Regions from separate parts of the Homo sapiens genome. Here all the other regions are linked to region 2. Evidence: promoter capture Hi-C in human tissues and cell types (Jung and others, 2019). All regions are on one chromosome and are shown on one strand. Each heading gives the region's core, a stretch centred on a gene start or on the middle of the fragment in contact. The rest is flanking DNA. Distances are from core to core; before and after follow the strand shown.

Region 1 (2,700 bases), core at 141-2,640, 210 kb after region 2:
CTTCTTTCTTTCTCTTTCTTCTTTCTCTTTCTTTCTCTCTTTCTCTCTCTTTCTTTCTTTCTCTTTCCTCCCTTCCTTTATCTCTTTTTCTTTCTTTCTTTTTCCTTCTTTATTTTGAAGTGGAGTCCCGCTCTGTCACCCAAGCTGGAGTGCAGTGGCGCAATCTCTGTTCACTGCAACCTCTGCTTCCCGTGTTCAAGCGATTCTCCTGCCTCAGCCTCCCAAGTAGCTGGGATTACAGGCATGCGCCACCACGCCCAGCTAATTTTGTATTTTTAGTAGAGTCAGGGTTTCACCATGTTGGTTAGGCTGGTCTCAACTCCTAACCTCAGGTGATCCACCCAGAATTGTTTTCTTTAAAACAACTTTTCTGTACTGGACATGGTGGCTCACACCTGTAATCTGGCACTTTGGGAGGTCGAGGCGGGAGGATTGCTTGAGCTTAGGAGTTCGAGACCAGCCTGGGCAACATGGTGAAACCCCAGGCATGGCGGCACATGTCTGTAATCCCAGCTACTGGGGAGGCTGACGTGGGAGGATCACCTGAGTCCAGGAGGCCGAGGCTGCAGTGAGCCATGATCATGCCACTGCCCTCCAGCCTGGATGACAGAGCGAGACCCTGTCTCAAATAAATAAATAATAAATAAATAAATAAAGCTGTTTTTCTTTCTTTCTTTCTTTCTTTCTTTCTTTCTTTCTTTCTTTCTTTCTTTCTTTCGTTTGTTCTTTCTTTCCTTCCTTCTTTCTTTCTTTTATTTCAGTCCTCTTTACTTGAAAGTTTATCTCTTGTTCAGAAAATAAATATGGGCCAGGTGCGGTGGCTCATGCCTGTAATCCTAGCACTCTGGGAGGCTGAAGCAGGAGGCTCACTTGAGCCCAGGAGCTGGAGATCAGTCTGGGCAACATAGTGAGACACTGTATCTTTTTGGGGATTTTTTGGACAGAGTCTTGCTCTGTCGCCAGGCTGGAGTGCAGTGGCGTGACCTTGGCCCTCGGCTCACTGCAACCTCTGCCTCCTGAGATCAACTGATTCTCCTGCCTCAGCCTCCTGAGTAGCTGGGACTACAGGTGTGCGCCACCACACCCAGCTAATTTTTTTGTATTTTTAGTAGAGACAGGGTTTCACCATGTTGGCCAAGATGGTCTCAATCCCTTGACCTCGTGATCCCCCTGTCTCGGCCTCCCAAAGTGCTGGGATTACAGGCACGAGCCATCACGCCCTGCCTGACCCCCAGTATCTTCTTAAAGAAAAAAGAAGAAAAGAAAAGAAACAAGATATTCTTTCTCCCTAATGCCAGTTCTTCATCTGCGGTCCCCTTCTCTGCACCGTCTCTCTGTCTCCTGGGTGGTCATCTCCATCTTCTCAGACTTACGTCTTTAATGTTTGTATTTTTAATCTTTTAATCCCAGACCTGAGGCATTGATCATCTATCTTCTTAAATCACATTTATTTTGTCACTTTATCATTATTTTAAACCTCTTAACTTTTATCTCTTGTGGAGAGTAACTTTTAAGACCAACTTCATAGCTTTTCATTTTAATTTTGTATTTGCTGATTTTAACTTTGTAATACACATTAGCCCTCTCATTTATAAGGTATTCATCTTATTGGTGCTGCTAGTCTTTTAATTTCTTTTATCTGAACTATTTTTCATGATTATAAAGAAAACTCTTGATTTTAAATCTTTGCTGGCTTTTTTTTTTTTTTTTTTTTTGAGACACAGTCTCACTCCATCGCCCATGCTGGAGTGCAGTGGAGTGATCTTGGCTCACTGCAACCTCTGCCTCCTGGGTTCAAGCAATTCTCCTGCCTCAGCCTCCCACATAGCTGAGAATACAGGCATGCGCCACCACGCCCAGCTGATTTTTGTATTGTTAGTAGAGGTGGGGTTTCACCATGTTGGCCAGGCTGGGCTCCAACTCCTGACCTCAAGTGATCCGCCCTCCTTGGCCTCCCAAAGTGCTGGGATTACAGCCGTGAGCCACCATGCTTGGCCTGGCTCTTTCATATCCTGAGCCTGAAAGTCCTTTTTTTTCTCAGTGATTACTTTTTAATCTTCCAGGCATTCATTCAATCCTCACAAAACTCTATGTGGCCACCCCTGTTTGTGTGTTGTTGTTGTTGTTTTTGTTTTTTTTTAGAGACAGGCTCTCACTCTGTCGCCAGGCTTGAGTACTGTGGTGTAATCATCACTCTGCAGCCTCGACCTCCCGGGCTTAAGCGATCCTCCTGCCTCAGCCTCTTGAGTAGCTGGGACTACAAGCACACACCACCACACACAGCTAATTTTTAAATTTTTTGGCCAGGTGCTGTGGCTCATGCCTGTAATCCCAGTGTTTTGGGAGGCTGAGGTGGGAGGATTGTTTGAGCCCAGGAGTTCAAAGCCAGCCTGGGAGACATAGCAAGACCCTGGTCTCTATGAAAAAAAAAGTTATATGTATAACAGGCCAAGGTGGGCTCTGTTGTCAGGCTGGAGTGCAGTGGCGCAGTCTTGGCTCACTGCGACCTCCGACTCTCAGGTTCAAGCGACTCTTCTGCCTCAGCCTCCCGAGTAGCTGGGACTACAGGTGCACGCCACCACGCCCATCTAATTTTCACATTTTTAGTAGAGACAGGGTTTCACCATGTTGGCTAGGACGGTCTTGATCTCTTGACCTCGTGATCCACCCACCTCAGCCTCCCAAAGTGCTGGCATTACA
Region 2 (2,700 bases), core at 17-2,516:
TTTCTTGCTCTCTCCCCATCTGTGTGTGTCTCTGACAGTCTGTGGCTCTCTGTATCTTTCTGTGTGTCTCTCTGTGTGTGTCTTGGTCCATCTCATGCCCAGCTAATTTTTAAATTTTTTGTAGAGATGGGGTTTCACCATGTTGGCCAGGCTGGTCTTGAACTCCAGACCTCAGGTGATTCTCCTGCTTCAGCCTCCCAAAGTGTTGGGATTACAGGCATGAGCCACCGTGCCTGGCCCATGGGTATGAATTTCTGCCTGTGTGTGTCTTCTTCTTTTTTTTTTTTTTTTTGAGATGAAGTCTTGCTCTGTCACCCAGGCTGGAGTGCAGTGGCGCTATCTTGGCTCACTGCAACCTCCACCTCCTGGGTTCAAGCAATTCTCCTGCCTCAGCCTCCCGAGTAGCTGGGATTACAGGCACCCGCCACCACACCCAGATAATTTTTGTATTTTTGGTAGATATGGGGTTTCACCATGTTGGTCAGGCTGGTTTTGAACCCCTGACTTCATGACCTGCCTGCCTTGGCCTCCCAAAGTGCTGGGATTACAGGCATGAGCCACCGCGCCCGGCCCATGGGTGTGAATTTCTGCCTGTGTGTGTCTTTTTAGCGTATGTGTGTCTCCATATCTGCCATCTGCAGGAGCACCTCAGTTTCATTATCTTGCTCCCTGTCTATTGGAGTGTATCTCTCTTCCTCTCTGTGTGACTTTTTGTGTTTATGTGTGTGTTTAGTGTGTGTCCATATTTTCCTGTTCTCTTGTGTCTCTCTGCTGTGTCTCTCTCTTTTTCTTTCTGTTTTTTGAGACGGAGTCTCCCTCTGTCACCCAGGCTGGAGTGCAGTGGTGCGATCTCGGCTCACTGCAACCTCTGCTTCTGAGGTTCAAACGATTCTCCTGCCTCAGCCTCCCGAGTAGCTGGAATTACAGACACATGCCACCATGCCCAGCTAATTTTGTATTTTTAATAGAGACGGGGTTTCACCATGTTGGCCAGGCTGGTCTTAAACTCTTGACCTTACGTGATCCACCCGCCTCGGCCTCCCAAAGTTTTTGGATTACAGGTGTGAGCCACCTCGCCCGGTCCTATCTCTCTTTCTTCTCTTTCTCCCTCTCACTTTGTTTCTCTTCTCTCTCTCTCTCCCGCCTCCTTCCCCCGTCTCCCCTCCCTTCCCCCCACCGCCCTCTTCATAGCTGAGCCTGTCCGGCAGTGCGGCGGATGTACGGATGATTCAGTGGCTGGCAGGAAGCCCGCCCTGCCCGCCCGCCAGTGTCAGTGGTGTTGGCATCAGCTTGGGCAGGTGTGCGGGCTCAGGATGGGGCGGCCGTGGTGAGGAACCCTGGACTCTCAGGTAAGCCTTTCCCAGGGGTGCCTCAGTCCTCAGGCTGTCCCCCATCCCCCAGGAGCTCCTGGCCCCACTGGGTGGGGTGGGAAGAGGCCTGGATGCCTGGCGCCCCCTCCCGCAGCCCCACTCTCACCCTGGCACCAGGCTCTGTGGCACTTCAGGGGTCAGTTTGTTTCTGGGCTTCTGGCCACTCTCTTGCCCTCGCCTTCCCCTGTCCAGCCTGTGTAGCCTTGGGACATCCCAGGGTGGTCCCATCATTGCCAGAGACTGGTGAAGTAAGTGGCCGAGAGCCAAAACAGTGGCTGCCCTGGCCTGGGAGCCTCGGTTTCCTCATCCGTGAAATGGGACTGTAACCCCCTACACAGGTCAGGGGAAAACGGTGGGATTACAGGCCAGGGCCCAGGTCTTGCCCCAGGTCAGGTGAAGAACCCCCACTGCCTCCCTGCCCAGCCCCCTACCTGGCCCTCAACTCTGTCCCTGGGACCAGGGCTGCTCAGGCCCCTCCTGCACCCGCCCGCCTCCCTCTCTCCCTCCCAGCTAGGCTCATTTGAAGCCCAGAGTTATTTGGAAAAAGCAACAGGACCAGCCGGGCACGGTGGCTCAACCTGTAATCCCAGCATTTGGGGAGGCCAAGGCGGGAGGATCATTTGAAGTCAGGAGCTGGAGACCAGCCTGAGCAACATAGTGAGACTCCCATCTCTTTAAAAAATAAAAATAAAAAAATATAATTAAAAACTAAATGAAAAAACCAACAGACCCCAGAGCAGAGTCCAGTGGATAAAGCCATCCAGGGCTTCAAGCCAGGCTGCCCCCTCCCCAACCCCAGTGTCCCCAACCACAGCTCAGCTCGGAGAAGGCTGGGAGAACCGGCAGGGTGGTCTCGAGCGTCCTTCCAGGCGGGATTCAGACACTGTAGCTCCTCCAGCCCAGCCCCGAGAACTTCCCCGAAGCCAGCTCTTGGCAATCGTTGTTCATATGAAAACTGCCCACTTCCCTTTAGTGCTATTTTGGCCTCTGCAGAACCGTGGTCTGTGGCAGCCCCCACTCCCCACCCCGCCCAGCCCTGCCGGCCCCTGGGGGCCTCAGAGGGTCCACCCTCCGCTCCCTCCACCTCAGCCCACCTGCTTTCAGAACCTGGATGGGAGAGTGAAAGTGAGAGCGAGACAGAGACACAAAGGGAGACAGAGACAGAGAGAGAGCACAGAATTTTTTTAAACGGAGTCTCACTCTGTTGTCCAGGCTGGAGTGCAGTGGCGTGATCTCGGCTCACTGCAACCTCCACCTCCCAGGTTCAAGCAGTTCTCCTGCCTTACCCTTCCAAGTAGCTGGGGACTACAGGCACGTGCTACCACACCTG
Region 3 (2,700 bases), core at 3-2,502, 190 kb after region 2:
CTCCCAAAGTGCTGGGATTACAGGCGTGAGCCACCAGGCTCGGTCTCTGTCTCTTTTTTTAATTATTTTTAAAGGCAAGGCTGGGCGCAGTGGCTCATGCCTGTAATCCCAGCACTTTGGGAAGCCGAGGCGGGTGGATCACGAGGTCAGGAGATTGAGACCATCCTGGCTAACACGGTGAAACCACGTCTCTACTAAAAATAGGAAAAAATTAGCGGGGCGTGGTGGTGGGCCCCTCCCAGCTACTCAGGAGGCTGAGGCAGGAGAATGGCATGAACCCGGGAGGCGGAGCTTGCAGAGACCCAAGATCGCGCCACTGCACTCCAGCCTAGGTGATAGAGCGAGACTCTGTCTCAAAAAAAAAAAAAAAAAAAAAGTCAAGAGGGATGGGGTCCTGGGTTCCCCACTTGGAGACCATGGAGCACCTCACAGAGGCCTGAGGGACCTCTGGGTGATGCCCAGGCTTGGAACCCAGAGACAAAGTGAGGCTGGAAGACTTTCCTGCCTAGAGTTGAGACGCCCACCAACACACACACGCACACTCATGTACTCTTCCACTCTCCTGCCACTTCCAGGACAAAGAGAAATCCCTGTCGGATCAGAGGCGCTACTCCCTCATCGACCGGTCCTCGGCGCCCGAGCTTCTGCGGCTGCAGCACCAGCTGATGAGCACGGAGGACGCCCTGCGGGATGCGCTGGACCAGGCTCAGCAGGTGGAGAAGCTGATGGAGGCCATGAGGAGCTGCCCTGACAAGGCCCAGGTGAGCCGCGGCTGACAGGGCCCACCAGGAGGCAAGCCACGGGGCAGTGTCCTCGGAGCCCCCGTCTGATGCGGGAGGCAGCCTTGTCTTTAAAACCCCAGTCTGAGGAGGTAGGGAGCTCGTCCCAGGAACCTGGTCTGAAGGGGGAGGTAGCCCTGTCCCAGAAACCCTGGTTTGAAGAAGGAGGCAGCTCTGTCCTGGGAACCCCAGTCTGAAGGGGGAGGCAGCCCTGTCTCAGGAACCCGGGTCTGAATGGGGAGGTAGCTCTGTCCCGGGAACCCCTGGTCTGAAGGGGGAGGCAGCTCTGTCCCAGGAACCCTGATGTGAAGGGGGAGGCAGCTCTGTCCCAGAAGCCCCCGGTCTGAAGGGGGAGGTAGCTCTGTCCCGGGAACCCTAGTCTGAAGGGGGAGGCATTTCTGTCCTAGGAACCTTGATCTGAAGGGAGAGGCAGCTCTGTCCTGGGAACCCTAGTCTGAAAGGGAAGGCATCTCTGTCCCGGGAACCTTGATCTGAAGAGGGAGGCAGCTCTGTCCCGGAACCCTGGTCTGAAGGGGGAGGCAGCTCTGTCCCGGGAACCCTGGTCTGAAGGGGGAGGTGGCGCTGTCCCAGGAACCTCCATCAGAAATGGGAGGCAGCCCTGGCCCAGGAACCCTGATCTAAAGCGGGAGGCAGCTCTGTCCTGGGAACCCAGCTGAAAGGGGAGGGAGCCCTGCCCTCTGGAACCCCCAGTTCAAGGGGCACATGGCTTTGCCCTGAGGAGCTTAGACTAAGAAGGAAGATGCAGCCTTACCCCTAGAGGCTTGGTCTTTGGGGGTGCTGGGAGCCCCAGGCTGAAGGGGTTGGAATTTGGAGCCTGAGACGGTCCCATGGGAAGACCTCGCCATCTAGTGGGAAAATCGGGAACTGCTGCCTGGTGCACCTGGCTCAGTGTCTCCCCTAACTCTTCCAGACCATCGGCAATTCCGGTTCTGCAAACGGCATCCACCAGCAGGACAAAGCTCAGAAACAAGAGGTGAGGGGCGCCTCGGGCCTCCCAGGTCCCTCCCGTGCAGGCAGACCTCTCTGGAGAAAATCCTTGAAACGTCACTAAGAATACACACAAAGATGCATTCTGCAAGAAGCTTTACAGTAGGGTCCCTCAGGGAGGGTGCTGTTGCAGGCAAACTTGATTCCAGATTCACCCTGCTCTTTTTGATTTGTGTTTTCTTCCCTTCTTAAAAAAGTTATAGGTTGGGCGCAGTGGCCCACGCCTGTAACCCCAGCACTTTGGGAGGCCAAGGCAGGAGGATCATTTGAGCCCAGGAGTTTGAGACCAGCCTGGCCAATATGGTAAAACTCCGTCTCTACTGAAAATACAAAATTAGCCGGGTAGGGTGGACAATATAGCGAGACCCTCTCTCTATTAAAAAAAAAAAATTTTAAAAAGGCTGGGCACAGTGGCTCATGTCTGTAATCCCAACACTTTGGGAGGCCGAGGCCGGTGGGTCACTTGAGGTCAGGAATTTGAGACCAGCCTGGCCAATATGGTGAAACTCCATCTGGCGGGCGGATCACAAGGTCAGGAGATCAAGACCATCCTGGCTACCACGGTGAAACCCCATCTCTACTAAAAATACAAAAAAAAATTAGCTGGGCGTGGTGGCGGGCACCTGTAGTTCCAGCTACTCTGGAGGCTGAGGCAGGATAATGGCATGAACCCGGAAGGCGGAGCTTGCAATGAGCCGAGATCGCGCCACTGGACTCCAGCCTGGGCGACAGAGCGAGACTCCATCTCAAAAAAAAAAAAAACCAAAAAAAAAAAAAAATACAAAATTAGCTGGGTAGGGTGGCGCACACCTGTAATCCCAGCTACACGGGAAGCTGAGGCAGGAGAATCGCTTGAACCTGGCAGGTGGAGGTTGCAGTGAGCCGAGATCGCACCATTGCACTCCAGCCTGGG
Region 4 (2,700 bases), core at 136-2,635, 230 kb after region 2:
AGAGAGAAAAGAAAGGAAAGAAAGAAAGGAAGGAAGGAAGGAAGGAAAGAAAAAGAAAGAAAGAAAGAAGAAAGAAGAAAGAAAGAAAGAGAAAGAAAGAAAGAAGGAAGGAAGGAAGGAGAGAAAAGAGGCCCTGCTCTAGGCAGATACTGTAGTGGGGTGCTAAGCCTGATGAGCTGACCAGTGGGGGCAGGTCCACTCCACTGAGACTTGGTGAGCTGAGTGTATCTGCACTTGAGCTTCCAGTTTGACCCTGGAGCACAGTCTGCCTAACCCCTAAGCCCTGGCTCAGCAGGTCCCCAGGCTGAGATCTAGACATCCGCTATGTCTGTCCTCTCAGGTTCCTGGAATGCTTTCCCCCTGGGCCACTTAAGATACAGGGGTCTGGGGCAGGGGCCAGGTCGTGCTCCTGACCTCAGGTGATCTGCCCACCTTGGCCTCCCAAAGTGCTGGGATTACAGGCATGAGCCACCGCGCTTGGCCTAAATTAACACTTTCATCTTTGATGCACCCTCTGGTCCCATGACTGCCTGGGCATTCCCAAGGTCCCTCCCCCAAAACTTTCCTTTTTCCTTTTCTCAGGAGTCCCCTTCTACACTCTAGTTATGTCACTGCAGAGGCCTTCTCTGTCACATGCACCTCTCAAGGGGCTGGTGGAGAGAGGCAGGCAGCTCAGGGACAGCGGGGCTATGGGGACAACTTCCAGATCATAGAGACGGGAGCCTTGTGCCTCTTTAAAAAAAATTTTGTTTTGACCAGGCATGGTGGCTTATGCCCGCAATCCCAGCATTTTGGGAGGCCAAGGCAGGAGGATTGCTTGAGGCCAGGAGTTCAAGACCAGCCTGGGCAACATGGTGAGACCCCCATCTCTGCAAAAAATACAAAAAGCTGGTCATGGTGGTGTGCATATGGTCCTGGCTGCTCAGGAGATTGGGGTGGGAGGATGGCTTAAGCCTGAGAGTTTGAGGCTGCAGTGAGCTGTGATCGCACCACTACACTCCACTAGGTACCCGAATTGAGACCCTATCTCAAAAAATTTTATTTTTTGGATTGGAAGCAGTGGCTCATGCCTGTAATCTCAACACTTTGGGAGGCTGAGACAAGAGGATCACTTGAGGCCAGGACTTCAAGACCAGCCTGGGCAACATAGCCAGACCCTGTCCCTAAAAAAATTTGTAAATTAGCCAGGCGTGGGGATGCATGCCTGTAGTACAAGCTACTCAGGAGGCTGAGGCGGGAAGATCACTTGAGCCCAGGAGTTTGAGGCTGCAGTGATCTATGATTTCGCCACTGCATTTCAGCTGGGGTGACGGAGTGAGATTCTGTCTCTAAAAAACATTTTAAGCCACACAAACACCACTTAAGTGTCTGTCCACCCCTGCGAGGAGCTGAGGTGGTCCCTGTAGTCCTGACCAGCTTCCTAGTTCCTGGAGGATCCCCAGGTTGGGCTAAGTCCTCAGGGCCAGGGTCACCTGGGAGGGTAGGGGGTAGGCTGTCCCTGGGCTGGGGGCCTCAGCTGAGGGATCAGAAACAGGTCATCTGCGAGCTTTCCCGGGGCTCTGAGAAGTCATGGCCCCACCGCCTCCATGTGAGCCTGCATTCTCTGCTCATTTATTTATTTTCAGAGCAGGAAAGTGGATTTGAAACGCTCCTTCTGAATGTTTACCCCTGGGGGAATGTCGGGTTTATGAATAATGCAGCATGTCAGGGACTGGGGGCCCCGTCGGGCTCCATCCTGTCCCAGGAAGGCTGGGAAGTTGCCACAGACGGGCCCTGGACAGATTCCTGCCCCACCACTTGCTGCTCTGTGAGTCTCGGCGAGTCTCTCTAAGACTCAGTGTCCCCAGCTATAAAACAGGGGAGTAGCCAGGTGCAGTGGCTCATGCCTGTAATCCCAGCACTTTGGGAGGTCGAGGCGGGTGGATCATTTGAGGTCAGGAGTTGGAGACCAGCCTGGCCAATATGGTGAAACCCTGTCTTTACTAAAAATACAAAAATTAGCAGGGCATGGTGGTGTGTGCCTGTAGTCCCAGCTACTCTGGAGGCTGAGGCAGGAGAATCGCTTGAACCCAGGAGGCAAAGGTTGCAGAGAGTCGAGATCGTGCCACTGCACTCCAGCCTGGGCAACAGAGTGAGACTCTGTCTCAAAAAAAAAAAAAAAAAAAAAAACAAACAAAAAAAAAAAACAAGGGTGTCTGGCCAAGCACGGTTGGCTCATGCCTGCAATCCCAGGACTTTGGGAGGCCAAGGAGGGAGGATCACTTGAGTCTAGGAGGTCAAGACCAGCCTGGGCTGGCTGGGCACTGTGGCTCACGCCTGTAATCCCAGCACTTTGGGAGGCCAAGGCAGGAGGATTGCTTGAGGCCAGGAGGTCAAGACCAACTTGGGCAACATAGCGAGACCCCATCACTACAAAAAATACAAAAATTAGCTGGGCGTGATGGCATGCATGTGGTCTCAGCTGCTCAGGGGACTGGGGTGGGAGGATGGCTTTAGCCTGGAAGGTTGAGGCTGCTGTGAGCTGTGATTGCGAGGATTGCTTGAGCCCAAGAGTTTGAGACCAGCCTGGGCAATAAAGCAAGACCTCATCTCTAAAAAAAAATAAAAAAAATAAAAAAATTTCTTTTTTAAATTACTTTATTTTATTTATTTATTTTTTTTGAGATAGTCTCACGCTGTCGCCCAGGCTGGAGTGCAGTG
Region 5 (2,700 bases), core at 21-2,520, 170 kb before region 2:
ATGGCCATTTTGTAGATGGCAAAAACTAAGCCTCATCGGAGAGGCAAATTGACCTGCTTGTGCTCATGGAGGCTGGGTAGCAGCAGCAGGGTCTGAATCTAGAACTCTCTGACTCTAGAAAGAAGGAGGATGGAGCTGGCCAGGTCCCTGGACTCCCAGCTGTGGTCAGCCCCTCCCCGCTTTCTCCTCCTTTCCAGATGCTAGAATCCTTGGGGCATTTGGGGCAGGTGAGTGCAAAGGAAGGAGGGCAGGCAGAGACAGAAGTGGTCAGGCCACATGACAGGATGCTCAGGCTGGGATCATGGGAAAAAGGAAGATGGCCCCAGAGAAGCTGCCTGCCCCCCACTGCAGCCCCAGCCTCTTCTCACTTCCTGTGCAGTCCTCAGCTTCCCCTCCCAGCCCCTCTGTGGACAGGAAAGGTCTGAGCATGTCCCTTGCCCTCTCAGAGCTCAGGAAACATGCCTGGCTTGAGAGAAGCGACTGCCAGCGCAGGTGGGTCTGGCCCGGGTGCTGGGAAGTGACTCCTGCCTGATCGCCAGGCACTCCCGCCCGGAGGCAAAGATGCTTCTTACATGAGGCTGGCTGAGTTTCAGAGGGGTCCAGCTCCCACTAGTAGGAAATGAGGGACGAGGAGTGGTTAGTAACGGAGACCACACCCAGGGAAAGCCAGGGGGGACCTCTCCAGGGTACAGCAGGCTCCATGTTTGGGATCCATCCCTGGAGAGGACTCACCCCTGAGGCTCAGGACTAGCACTTGTAGGAGAGATCGTCACATAATTAGAAACAAACCTGGCATGGTTGTGAACTCTGACCTGATGGCCCATTGGTCCTGGCCAAGGCAGTGGAATGTCTCCCGCAGTGGGAGACGAAGCGATTGGGCCCAGATGTGGGGAGGAGAGAGCCAGAGGGACCCATTTGGCGTCTCATAAACATCTTAGTAGGAGGCTCCTGGGCTGCAGGGCAGGCTGGATGGAAGGACAGATGGGTAGTGGGGACACAGGAGTTCCCCGATGCAGGTGAAGGGGAGGGGACTGAGTCAAGAGATATCTGCAAGGAAGCAGAAGAGAGACCTCACTGGCCTGGGGTGAGGTCTCGCTCACGGACTCTGCTCTGTCCCAGCCCTTGCTGAAAGCCCTGCTGAATCTTGTTAGCCAGCAGGGCTTCTAGGAGAAGCACAGGCCTGGCCCAGGCTTGTTAGGGATCGGTGCAATGACACCTGCACTGCACATAGTAGTCGCTCACTAAACTACTGGTGGATGCTATTTTATCAGGATCGACCCTGAGCATCACAGGCTTAGGGACCAGCCTAGGGACCTGAGTGGCTGATCACAGCACTGCCCTAACTCCAGGAGACATTTCCCACTCTGGGCCTAGGAACACTGCCTACACTCCTGTCTCTGTTTCTTATCCACAGTTCCCGGAGGGCTTGCGGGTGCTGGCCTTGGGGCAGGTGAGTGCTGACACCCAAGAAAGATATCCCCTGTGGGGACCAGCCCCTGAGCTCAACCCAGGGCTGGTATGCAGCACGGTCATGGAACAAGGGTGCAGGCCAGGTTCCGTCCTGGGCACTGACGGGGACTGATGCTGATACCAACTGCCCCAAGCAGCTGCCCAGGACATGAGGAAATCACAGCTGAGTACCTGGGTTCCTTTATAACATAGTAGTGAAGGCTGCATGGAGGAAGCCCCATGGACCAAGGAAGCCCAAGGGAGTCGCTTAACTCAGCAGGGGTTCAGGAAGGCATTCTAGAGGAGGTGGGTGGGGAAATTTGACCCCAAAAGATCCATGCAGTTTTCAGGAAGGCTGAAGTGAGAGGATCCCTTGAGCCCAGGAGGCTGAGGCTTCAGAGAGCTATGATCATGTCACTGCACTCCAGCCTGGGCGACAGAGAAAGACCTCATCTCTTTTGTTGTTCTTGTTGTTGTTGAGACAGAGTCCCACTCTGTCACCCAGGCTGGAGTGCAGTGGCTCAGTCTCAGCTCCCCGCACCTGGTGCAGTTGATCTCAGCTCACCACAACCTCCACCTCCCCGGTTCAAGTGATTCTTGTGTCTCAGCCTCCCAAATAGCTGGAATTACCAGTGTGCACCACCACGCTCGGCTAATTTTTGTATTCTTAGTAGAGACGGGGTTTCACCATGTTGGCCAGGCTGGTCTCGAACTCCTGGCCTCAAGTGATCCACTCACCTCGGCCTCCCAAAGTGCTGGGATGACAGGCTCAAGCCACCGTGCCCAGCCACAAGACCCCATCTCTAAAGGGAAAAAAAAAAAAAGAGCCATGCAGTTTTGTCAGAGCTGTCTAACACATTAACCTCGGCACACAATCTAGTTCTGGTACTTAGGCGCGGTGGCTCACGCCTGTAATCCTAGCACTTTGGGAGGCTGAGACGGGCAGATGGCTTGAGCCCAGGAGTTCGAGACCAGCCTGGGCAACATGGTAAAATCTTGTCACTACAAAAAATACAAAAAAAAAAAAATTTGCCGGGCACAGTGGCATGCACCTGTAGTTCCACCTACTTGGAAGGCTGAGGCGGGAGGATTGCTTGAGCCTGGGTGGTTGAGGCTGCAGTGAGCCAAGATCGCACCACTGCACTCCAGCCTGGGTGACAGAGTGAGACCTTGTGTCAAAAAAAAAAAAATCCATTACCGGTGAGCAGTGCTCACATGGATGTCCTGCAGGCATTGATGTCTGGCAGAGAG

What was found. The method cuts DNA at HindIII sites, captures the fragments that hold promoters and counts their contacts. A contact is called where the count stands out against the background at its distance.
Region 1: a contact is called between a fragment that was not itself captured here and the fragment with the promoter of LAT2 in region 2, in 9 of the 25 tissues and cell types used here (IMR-90 fibroblasts, aorta, bladder and 6 more).
Region 3: a contact is called between a fragment that was not itself captured here and the fragment with the promoter of LAT2 in region 2, in 11 of the 25 tissues and cell types used here (IMR-90 fibroblasts, bladder, dorsolateral prefrontal cortex and 8 more).
Region 4: a fragment that was not itself captured here is called in contact with the fragment with the promoter of LAT2 in region 2 in 1 of the 25 tissues and cell types used here (lymphoblastoid cells).
Region 5: a contact is called between a fragment that was not itself captured here and the fragment with the promoter of LAT2 in region 2, in 2 of the 25 tissues and cell types used here (mesenchymal stem cells and spleen).

What each region holds. Positions count from the first base shown.
Region 1 is chr7:74,420,193-74,422,892 of GRCh38, forward strand. No RefSeq gene overlaps it. Among named protein-coding and RNA genes, the nearest start is that of GTF2IRD1, 32 kb to the right of the region's middle. The HindIII fragment of the contact is 8,329 bases long and covers 1-2,700 here.
Region 2 is chr7:74,208,740-74,211,439 of GRCh38, forward strand. It overlaps LAT2 (linker for activation of T cells family member 2), which reads left to right and starts at 1,267. Exons shown (of 14, transcript NM_032464.3): 1 at 1,267-1,349. RefSeq lists enhancers at 751-860, 2,081-2,200 and silencers at 1,141-1,190, 2,301-2,390. The HindIII fragment of the contact is 33,709 bases long and covers 1-2,700 here.
Region 3 is chr7:74,399,795-74,402,494 of GRCh38, forward strand. It overlaps CLIP2 (CAP-Gly domain containing linker protein 2), which reads left to right. Exons shown (of 17, transcript NM_003388.5): 15 at 576-761; 16 at 1,711-1,773. Among named protein-coding and RNA genes, the nearest start is that of GTF2IRD1, 53 kb to the right of the region's middle. The HindIII fragment of the contact is 5,500 bases long and covers 1-2,700 here.
Region 4 is chr7:74,440,304-74,443,003 of GRCh38, forward strand. No RefSeq gene overlaps it. Among named protein-coding and RNA genes, the nearest start is that of GTF2IRD1, 12 kb to the right of the region's middle. The HindIII fragment of the contact is 3,945 bases long and covers 1-2,700 here.
Region 5 is chr7:74,039,802-74,042,501 of GRCh38, forward strand. ELN (elastin) reads left to right here. Exons shown (of 33, transcript NM_000501.4): 5 at 1,415-1,450. Among named protein-coding and RNA genes, the nearest start is that of ELN, 13 kb to the left of the region's middle. The HindIII fragment of the contact is 4,659 bases long and covers 1-2,700 here.